2 separate regions of the Homo sapiens genome follow, and region 2 is linked to region 1. The links are contacts of gene promoters, found by promoter capture Hi-C in blood cells and fetal thymus (Javierre and others, 2016). All regions are on one chromosome and are shown on one strand. Each heading gives the region's core, a stretch centred on a gene start or on the middle of the fragment in contact. The rest is flanking DNA. Distances are from core to core; before and after follow the strand shown. Region 1 holds the start of JAM3 (junctional adhesion molecule 3). Region 2 overlaps GLB1L2 (galactosidase beta 1 like 2).

Evidence for each region. The method cuts DNA at HindIII sites, captures the fragments that hold promoters and counts their contacts. A CHiCAGO score of 5 or more calls a contact.
Region 2: a contact is called between a fragment that was not itself captured here and the fragment with the promoter of JAM3 in region 1, in 1 of 17 cell types (total CD8 T cells). The highest score is 5.2, in total CD8 T cells.

What each region holds. Positions count from the first base shown.
Region 1 is chr11:134,067,523-134,073,061 of GRCh38, reverse strand. It overlaps JAM3 (junctional adhesion molecule 3), which reads right to left and starts at 3,990. Exons shown (of 9, transcript NM_032801.5): 1 at 3,903-3,990. The coding sequence starts at 3,978. RefSeq lists a silencer at 3,996-4,185. The HindIII fragment of the contact is 4,850 bases long and covers 1-4,731 here.
Region 2 is chr11:134,350,060-134,355,575 of GRCh38, reverse strand. The region is part of intron 5 of GLB1L2 (galactosidase beta 1 like 2); the gene reads right to left. Among named protein-coding and RNA genes, the nearest start is that of GLB1L2, 21 kb to the right of the region's middle. The HindIII fragment of the contact is 2,227 bases long and covers 2,457-4,683 here.

The DNA.
Region 1 (5,539 bases), core at 2,741-5,240:
ACTTTCTTTCGGGATCGCTTTACACTCCAGTGAAGCTATTTGCATATACTGCTAGAATTCTGAGAGTACATGCAAAGATCTGAAATTTGCATTCAACTTTGACAGCATAACATTCACACCACCTGACTATAAACATCTTTTTTTTTCCCCCAAGACGGAGTTTCACTCTTGTACCCCAGGCAAGAGTGCAGTGGCGCAATCTCAGCTCACTGCAACCTCCACCTCCCGGGTTCAAGCGATTCTCCTGCCTCAGCCTCCAGAGTAGCTGGGACTACAGGCAAGCACCAGCACGCCCGGCTAATTTTTGTATTTTTAGTAGAGACAGGGCTTCATCATGTTGGCCAAGATGTTCTTGATCTCCTGATCTTGTGATCCGCCCACCTCGGCTTCCCAAAGTGCTGGCGTGAGCCACTGTACCCGGCCAACTATAAACATATCTTAAAAGAGAATCCAGCTGGGCGTGGTGGCTCACGCCTGTAATCTCAGCACTTTGGTAGGCCAAGGCGGGCAGGTCACTTGAGGTCAGGAGTTCAAGACCAGCCTGGCCAACATGGTGAAACCCCATGTCTACTAAAAACAATAAAAAAATTAGTCAGGCAAGGTGGCACGCATCTGTAATCTCAGCTACTCGGGAGGCTGAGGCAGGAGAATGGCTTTAACCTGGGAGGCGGAGTTTTGCAGTGAGTTTTGCAGTGAGCTGAGCTCATGCCACTGCATCAGAAACTCAGTCTCAAAAAAAAAAAAAAATCCAACTTCACCACTAGGGTATTCTTCAGCAGACTCCATACATCCTAACTTCATTCACACATATTTTCCTTTCTTTTACTACATTTGTGCTTTTAAAAAATTCAAAGAATTTATGGAGAAGGAATTTGCTAATACCACATCTCTAACAGCTGCTAGTCGAATGTACTAAATCCATAGCTGCGTCTGTTACATTATGTGGCCATCTTATACTTGAGGAAAGTCTGGTTGCTTTCAAAAGAACTGATTTAAACCCACCCCATGGAGTTTAAGAACAAGTTCCATGGAGCTTAGGGGTTGTGTGGATAATTCTGCCTGAATGTAATACTGCAATTACTTATGATTAAGTATCTCTAGTACTTATCCATTCAGTCTCCTTAGCCTGAAGCACTGAAGAACAAATGCCCATCAACAAGTCATGTGGGAATGAGCAGCTGATATAAAGTACTGCATGCTTTCAAGACAGGTGTTCTTTGTTTTTTTTAAAACATACACACAAGTCTGACAATGATTATATCTGCCAGATAATTAAGAATTAGAACATAAAAGAATATGCCATTCTAAAAAACGTTACTGGAGTCCAAACAGATGCAAATAAAAGAATTAAACATTTTTTCAAAAATTTCCCAGAAATTTTGATTTTCAGATTTTGATATGCTTCAGCACACAAGTTGTCTTATCTGAAGAATGAAAACTGTTGCTGTTTTAATTCTAAATAAGGCACTTCTCTCTAGAATATCAAAGATTTGGAAACCTAACACTAATGAGTACACAATCATTCAAAAAAGCCATGTGGCATAACATTTGTAAAGCTGAACTGCACCTGTCATGAGTCAACAAAAGAATATTTTATATACAAACCACATAGTGTTGAAAACTTGATAATCTGTTTAAACTGATCCATTAAAAGAACTCCACCGTCAAATGGAATAATACAAATAACTAAAAATTGGATTAACACAAATAATGAAGGATTTCCCATTTAAAACGCACAGGATAACACTCCCGACAAGGGTCTGAATCTCTCCATACTTCTGTTCCCTCATCCACAAAAGGGCACAACAATAGTAACGACTTCTTAGAGTTATCAAGATTAAATAAATTAGCAAACATTAAATTCTTGTAACAGAGCCTGGCAAAGGGTAACCACAAAAGAAATGTTTGCTGTTATATCAAGAACCAAAATTTTTAAGATGAAAATAAATAGTAATAGCAATTGAGAATAATCATAAAAAATAAAAAGGACACAGTAGTCATGACTTCTGGAAGAACAGTTTTAGGGTAGCTTAAAGCATAAACCAAATAATGGAAAAAGAGCCCCTACTAAAAAAAAGATAGCTACACGCCTTCAAAGTGGATTCATACATCCTACTACCTCGATTATTTGTCATTAGAACTAGTTTGCAAAATTTGATTCTTCCTCCTACGCTCTGCATGTGAATCCCAGCCCCTACCAGCAAAAAAGCCACAAAACTAGTCCCTTAGGGGAAGGAAATCAGAGGTTAAGGGTAAGTGAAGCTCTTTGCATTTTCTAGTTTTATTAACAAACTACCAAGTTGAAATTCATTCCTGAGCTAAACTGCCAAATGCTTCTGCAACAAAAACTGCAAACTTTCACGTGAACAGATCTTTTCAACAATAGAGAGTTGTTCCAGGCTGTGAATAGGACAGTGTCAGTGTGACCAACACAGCGGGTGCTGGACATTCCTGACACCCTTGTCCCCTGGCTAGCCTTTGATCACTTATCTCCCAACAGCATTTGGTTTTGGGAATCACTTTCAGGCAAAGTATACAGACTTTGCCTTAGCGTACATAATCTATACGCTAAAACTCATCTTTTGTCACAGCCCATCACGAGCATCCCATTAGCATAAAGCACCAAACACAGGAATGCTTTGTTTTCCAAAATCTGTCCACCTTCACTCCTAAACAGTCCCTCCGTGTTTTAATTTGTATATTCTGGAAAACATCATGGGATGACAGTGGCAATTCAAACAATAAAATAATCTAAGAACCGAAAAAGGTCCTGGTCTGGTTACCTGCGGATGGCTGCCAGGGGAAGAGTGTGGTGTCCTGCTTTAGGTAAATATGAAGTTGAGGCTTCACTACTTAGAATGCAGCCTTGGAAAGCAGACTAGACTTGACTCTGAAAATGGATTAATGAAACCTATCTCACAGAGCTGCTGAAAGGAGTAAACGAGATAATGGCTCCAAAGTGCCTAGTAGACAGTACAAGCTCACTAAAGGAAAGCTATTTTAGTCCTCTGTACAACTGTCCAGGAAAATGTGGATCTAATGAGAATTCCAAACAGAGGGAAAGAAAATGCACAAAACTATCAAGTTTATTAGTGTGTCTTGATCAAATGCCCCGAATGCTATTTCCGGATAAGAGTCTGCGTGGTCTCCTCGGCCAGGCCAGAGACAAAAAAGGTACTGGATTGATATCCATTTTATTTCTGTAAAAGAAAAGCAGTTCCTTTGTGTCGAGTCAAATGAACTGCAGATCCCCAGAGGGCTGTGACCAAGCAGCCCGCCAGGCCTCGGAGCTCTGCCTCGCCGGTCCTCAGCTACGTCCCCCGCTCACCGTCCCTTCTGGAGAGCACAGCACTGCTGCGCAGGGTCTTCCAGCAAGTTCCAGCGCCCACGCCGCAGCTGCCGCGCTCCCTCCAGAGGGCCGTGCCCACCGCCCGGGAGGGGTCCACCCCGGGGACGAGCCCACCGCCCAGCACAGGACCCCGCCTGGGAGGAGCCCACCCGGGGGATGAGCCCACCGCCCAGCACAGGACCCCGCCTGGGAGGAGCCCACCCGGGGGATGAGCCCACCGCCCAGCACAGGACCCCGCCCGAGAAGAGCCCGCCCCCGGGGTCCGACGGCTGTCCGGGACCGACTCACTGCCTGGGACGGGCCCCCCATCCCAAATTAGCTCCCCGCCCCGGTCCAACTGCCGGGCGTCCCAGGGCCCCCGCCCTAGCCAGGCCCGAGTCCCAGCCCTGGCTGCGGGGACGCGGGCGCGCGCCGCCCCTCCGGCCCGGGACCCCGGGAGCCCTCGGAGCCAGGACCGCTATCCTCGCCCGGACCGGCTCCAGCAGCTTCGGCCCGCTCTGCTTCCGTCGCCCCCAGACCCTAGTCTCCCAACAGCGGAAACGCGCAAACTCACCCCTGAAAAGCAGCAGCAGGAAGAAGTCAGGCAGCCGAGCGCAGAGCCGGAGTCGCGGTGGCCGCCTCAGCGCCATGTCGAGGGTTGCTGAGGGGCCAGCGGCAGCGCGGCGCGGCTTGTAGTCCCCGCGCGCATGCGCCCAGCCTGCCAGGACCCTGCGACCCGCCCCAGTTACCATGGCGACCGCCGGGCCCAGCCGAGCCGGCACCATGGTGACAGAGGAAGCTGAGGTCTAGCTGCTTACGGATGCAGCGATGCTCTGGACCGGCACATGGGTTCTCTTTCAATGAACTTGGCGGGAGGAGAGTAAAGAAGTATGTACAAGAGTGAAGCAGGGTATATTTCCATAGCTATAGAATAAATCCATCACAACAGGTCGGAGAAGGAACACTCCTTTAAAATTTGGGAAATAAAGTATTTCTTATTTTACAAATAAGGATGCAGCCCAGTTATCTTGGAAGCATTATCGCCTTCACATCTTTTGGGCCCCCAATTCCAAATTGATGGAAGGAAAAGAGCTGAAATCTGCTTAAAACATAAGCAATACATACATTATACAGCATATAAAAGTGATGTCTTGCTAAAATAATTTGTTTATGTGGTAGATCAAAAGCATGATGGCATACCCAATAGTTTATTCTGCAGAAAAGCAGACTAATTATTTGCTCTGATTTCTGAATACTGGGAGATAGTAAAACCAGGGAAGAACAGGTAAGATGAGGACAAACAGGAAAAATGAAGAGAAGGATAAATTAAAGCAGAAATTAGATCTAAAAAAGCAAGAGTATTTAAAGTCTCACTTAATACTATGGAAAATACTTGAAAAGCTTGTATTTTAGCAAGTATAGAAAGTACACCTCCAATGTTCCCAGAAACAGCAGTCTAGCAACAGAATTCTGAATATAATTGTTAGTAAAATAAGCCAGTTTCCAACTAATATTTTTAATGTTTAACTTTTTCATATACTCATGCTACTTTTTTAGTATTTTTAGTTTTCATGCAAAATAGAAGTATATTTACATATTATGTATACCAAATTTATATATGTAAAAGCCGGGAAACGTGAAATAGATTGAGATTGTTGCCAAGAATATGCTTCAGTTTCCATCACTGTATAATCTTCTTTGTAAATCTTTATAACTGCTCAGATCTTTATGTTAATTGATTACCTTCTCAAAAATCTTATAAAGACAGAATAAAAATTAAAAAATAACTCAATTACCTACTATGATTCTGTCTTTCCTTTCATAAATCTTCTTTATGTTCCAGGTCACCATGCACTAAATCACAAGTAAAAGTGTGTAAAAGTTGTTTTATAATGGTGGCCTCTTTCCCTTTATCAAGCACAAAATCGAGAAATTAAAAAGAAGAAAATTCGTCTTATGCCCACTGACATTTTTTTCTGCCCTCTGTTTTCCCTATTATTCCCTTTAGCTCCTGGTCACATGGCCAGGCATATTTACCTAACTGAAGGAACTGTTTGGGTTACTTGGAAATGTGAGATGGTGTCTGACTGTGGACAGAGCACGGTTTTCAAAAACCAGTGCCTCTTTTCTCCTGCGGAATTTTCAGTGTTTGCGTTGTAAAATGGTCTATCTGTTAAATGGTCTTCCTGCTAGGGAATCTTTTGAAACTCA
Region 2 (5,516 bases), core at 2,321-4,820, 280 kb before region 1:
GGAAGCACACACACAGATACAGACAGAACACATGCCCAGAAAATATCAGCTCTTAAGTCTTCATGTTGGGCTGATCTCCGGGCTTAGGGGCCCACTAATTAGTGAGGGTTCCCCTGAAAACATGCAAAAACTGAAATAGGTGTTTGTTTTTTCAAAAGCCCAATGTTCAACCAAAAAAACACAAACATAAAAAGAAACAGGGAAGTATGACTCATCAAAGGAACAAAATAAATCTCCAAAAGCAGTATCTGAAGAAACACACACACCAGACTCAGTAGAGCAAGATCTATAACAGCTGTCGTAAATATGCTCAAGGAGCTAAAGGAAACCAGGCAAATGATATATGAAGAAAAAGAGAATATCAACAAAGAAACAGAGATTATTTTTAAAAGAACCAAAGGAACTTCTGGGGCTGAAATATACCATATATAAATTGAAAAATTCACTAGAGGAGTTCAACGGCAGATTCAAACAGGTAGAAGAAAGAAAAGCAAACTTAAACACAGGTTATCAGAAATGATCAGGTCTGAGGAGATAAAAGAATAAAGAAAAGTGAACAGAGCCTAAGGGGCTTACACAACATCTTCAAGCAGAATAATATATGAATTATGGGTTTCTTAGAAGAAAAAGAGAGATAAAAGGGCAGGGAGATTATTTTTACAAAATAATAGCTGAAAACTTCTCCAATTTGAGGAAAGACAAGATTATATAAATCTAAGGAGCTCAAAAAATTCCAGAGAACCACTCAGGGACACTCTATAATCAAACCATTGAAGACAAAGAGAGATTCTTGAATGCCAGAAAAAGTTTTGGTCACAGGCAAGGGATCCTCAATAAGACTATAAAGGATATCTCAGCCAGAAAATTTTCAGGCCAGAAGGCAATGAGATGATATAGTCAAAGTGCTGAAAGGAAAAAGTGTCAACTTTTTTTTTGACACTTCTATATCCAGCAAAACTCAAAAATGAGGGAAAAATTAAGAAATTCCCAAAGTAAAGCTAAGAGAGTTCATTACCACTAGACCTTCCCTAGAAAAAAAACACCTAAAGTTGAAATGAAAAAATGCTAGAGAGTAATTTGAAGCTATATGAAAATATAAAGTTCTCCAGCAAAGATAGACACATAAAAAATATAAAAATATTATTATAATTTTTCTTTACAATGTGGCTTTTTATTTTCTACAAGATTTTAAAAGACATAAAATAATTATAAATTTAAGTTAATGGGTACACCCAATATGAAGACATAATTTGTGACATCAATAAAATAAAGTGGAAGGGCAGAACTGTAAAGGAGTTTTTGTGTGCAGTTGAAGTTAGGTTGGTATCAATTTAAAACAGAATGTCACAACTTTAGGATATTATATATCCTTTACCTTATCCCAAGGTAAAGGGAATCGTTATAAAAAAGTGTCACTATAAAAAAATCAACTAGATACAAAGTAAAGCAGTCATAAAGGAAATGAGGGACAAAAAGCTGTAAGACATACAGAAAGCAACAAAATGGCAAAAGCAAGTGATTCTCTATCAGTAATTACTTTGAATGTAAACACATTAAACTCCCCAATCAAAAGACATACATTGGCAGAATGGATTTTTAACAAACCGATATCCAACTATATACTATCTACAAGACACTCACTTCAGATCTAAGGATATTTATTGGTTGGAAGTGAAAGGCTGGAAAAAGATATTTTATGCAAACAGTAATCAAAAGAGGAGGGGTGGCTTTGCTAATATCAAACAAAATAGACTTTATATCAAAAACTGTTACAAGAGACAAAGACATGATAAAATATATATAATGATAAAAGGGTCAATTCACCAAAAGGATATAACAATTATAAACATATATGCACCAAATGCCAGAATTCCAAAGTATATGAGCCAAACAGTGGCAAAATTAAAGGGAAAAATAGACAATAATAGTAGGAGACTCAATATCTGAATATCAATAATGGATAGAGTAACCAGACAGAAAATTAGTAACCAAATAGAGGACCTAGACAATATTATGGACCAGTTGGACCAAACATATATATACACAACATTCCACCCAAAAGTAGCACAATACACATTTTTCTCATGGGCACATAAAACACTCTCCAGGATAAACCATATAGTAAGCCAAAAAAACAAGCCTTAATAAATTTTTCTTTTTTAAAAAAAAACAGAGTCTTGCTCTGTCACCCAGGCTGGAGTGCAGTGGCACAATCTTGGCTCACTGCAACCTCCATCTCCCAGGTTCAAGTGATTCTTGTGCCTCAGCCTCCCAAGTAGCTGGGATTACAGGTGCCCGTCACCACACCTGGCTAATTTTTGTATTTTTTAGTAGAGAATGGGTTTCAACATGTTGGCCAAGCTGGTCTCTAACTCCCGACCTCAAGTGTTCCACTTGCCTCGGCCTCCCAAAGTGCTAGGATTACAGGCATGAGCCACCACACCCAGCCTCAAGCTTTAATAAATTTAAAAAATTGAAATCTTACAAAGTTTTATTTTTCCCAATCACAATGGAATGAAACTAGAAATCAATAACCAAAAAAGTCCTGAAAAATTCAAGTATGTGGAAATAAAATCTTCACCAATAGTCCAAAGAGGAAATCACAAGAGACATTAGAAAATATATTGAGGCCAGGCGCAGTGGCTCACGCCTGTAATCCCAGCACTTTGGGAGGCCAAGGCGGGCGGATCACCTGAGATAGGGAGTTCAAGACCAGCCCGGCCAACAAGGGGAAACCCCGTCTCTACTAAAAATACAAATATCAGCCGGGCGTGGTCACGGGCACCTGTAATCCCAGCTACTTGGGAGGGTGAGTAATGAGAATCACTTGAACCTGGGAGGCGGACGTTGTAGTGAGCTGAGATCATGCCACTGCACTCCTGCCTGGGCGACAAGAGCGAGACTCCATCTCAAAAAAAAAAAAAAAGAAGACATATTGAGAAAAATGAAAATGGAAATAAAATTATGAATTACAGTGAAAGCAGTGCAAAGAGGGAAATTTTATAGCTATAAATACATTTAAAAGACAAAAGGTCTCAAACCAACAACTTAACTTTATACCTTAAGAAACCAGAAAAAGGGAAACAAACTAAAAGGTAGCAGAAGTAAGGAAATAATAAAGATTAGAGCAGAGATAGACAATGAGAGAATAGAAAAACAATAAAGAAAAATTAATGAAACCAAGAGTTGGTTATTTGAAAAGATCAACAAAACTGACAAACTGCAGCTAAACTAAGAAAAAAGATATGACTCAACTAAAATCAGAAACAACATGAGGCTATTACTGCTGATTTTACAGAAATAAAAACGATTACAGAAGAGGAATATGAACAAATTGTACGCCAACAAATTAAATATTAAATAACCTAGATGAAACACACAAATTCCTAGAAATATATAATATGCCAAAACTAAATCATGAAGAAATATAAAATCTGAACAGACCTATAACTAGTAAGGACACTGAATCAGTAACTAAAAACCTCCCAACAAAGAAAAGTCCAGGACCAGATGGCTTCACTGGTAAATTCTACCAAATATTTAAAGAAAAATTAACGCCAGTCTTCCTCAAACCCTTCCCAAAAATTGAAAGGGAAGGAACACTTCCTACCTTATTCTATAAGGTAGAATACAGTAATAAACTCTTTTCACTTTTCTTTGGGAATTTCTTAATTTTTCCCTCATTTTTGAGTTTTGCTGGATATAGAAGTGTCAAAAAAAGTTGACACTTTTTTCTTTTATTACAAACAAAAGACACTATGAGAAAAGAAAACACGGACTAACAGTCCTGATGAATACTGATGCCAAAACCCTCAACAACATGTTAGCCAACTTAATTCAGCAGCATATTAAAAGAATTATAAACCATGATCAAATGGGATTCATTCCTGTAATGCGAGGATGATTTGCCATGTGAAAAGCAATCAATGTAGGCCAGGCATGGTGGCTCATGCCTATAATCCCAGCACTTTGGGAGGCTGAGGCAGGTGGATCACCTGAGGTCAGAAGTTTGAGACCAGCCTGATCAACAGGGTAAAACCCCATCTCTACTGAAAATACAAAATTAGCTGGGCATGGTGGCAGGTGCTTGTAACCCCAGCTATTCAGGAGGCTGAGGCAGGAGAATCACTTGAACCTGGGAGGAGGAGGTTGCAGTGAGCTGAGATAGCGCCATTGCTCTCCAGCCTGAGCAACAAGAGGGAACCACCATCTCAAAAAAAAAAAAAAAAAGAAAGAAAAAGAATCAATCAATGTAATATACCGCATTAACAAAATTAAGAGGAAAAACCACATGATGATCCCAATTGATGCAGAAAAAAGTGATAAAATTCAACATTCTTTCATGATAAAAAACACTCAGTCAACTAGGAACAGAAGGAAACTACCTCAACATAGTAAAGGCCCCATACAGAAAGCCCACAGTCAACATCATATTCACTGGTGAAAGACTGAAAACTTTTCCTCTACGATCAGGAACAAACCAAGCATTCGTGCTTTCAGCACTTCTATTCAACACGGTACTGGAAGTCCTGCCAGAGCAATTAGTCAAGAAAAAAATAAAGGCAACCAAGTTGGAAAGGAAGAAGTTATCTCTGTTCACAGACAACATGATCTTAAATGCAGAAAACAGTGCACATCCCCACACCCCTAAAAAAAACTATCTAGCTAATAATTCAGTAAGCTTGCAGGATAAAAAAAATCAATGTGCAAAAATGCATTGTTTTTATCCACCATCAGGGGACAATTCCATTTACGACACCATCAAAAACAACAAAATACTTGGGAATACATTTAATCAAGGAGGTGAAATATTTGTACACTGATTGTACATTACAAACAAAATACTAAAAGAAAATAAAAGACAGTGGAGCAAGATGGAGGAATAGAAGGCTGCACCGTTCATCCGTCCTGCTGGAACACGAAATTTTAACAGTGATCTGCACGCAGAAAAGCACCATGACAAAAACCGAAACTCAAGTGACCCGTCACAGTACCTGGTTTTAACTTCATATCACCAAAAGACGCATTAAGGCAGGCAAGAGAGACAGCCTTACACCACCGATGCCACCCTCTCCCATCTCCCAGCGGCAGCCAAGTGGTGAGGAGAGAGGATCTGTGCATTTGGGGAAGGGAGAGCACAGTGACTGGGGAACTTTACATTGAACTCAGTGCTGCCTTGTCACAGCACAGGATAAAGCCATGCTGAGCTCAGCCAGCATCCACGTAGACGGAGCATTTGGACCAGCCCTAGCCAGAGAGGAACTGCCCACCCTAGTGATTGGAACTTGAGTTTCTTGGGAAGCCTCACCACCATGGGCTGAAGTGCTCTGGAGTCCTAGGTAAACATGAAAGGCAGTCTAGGACACAAAGACCGCAATTCCTATGCAACTCCTGGAGCTAGGATGAGCTTACAGCCAGTGTACTAGCACAGCGCATGGCCTAAGGAGCCACCAGCTGGCATGGCTAAGGGAGTTCTTGCACATCCCTCCCCCAAGCCCAGGTAGCGCAGCTCACAG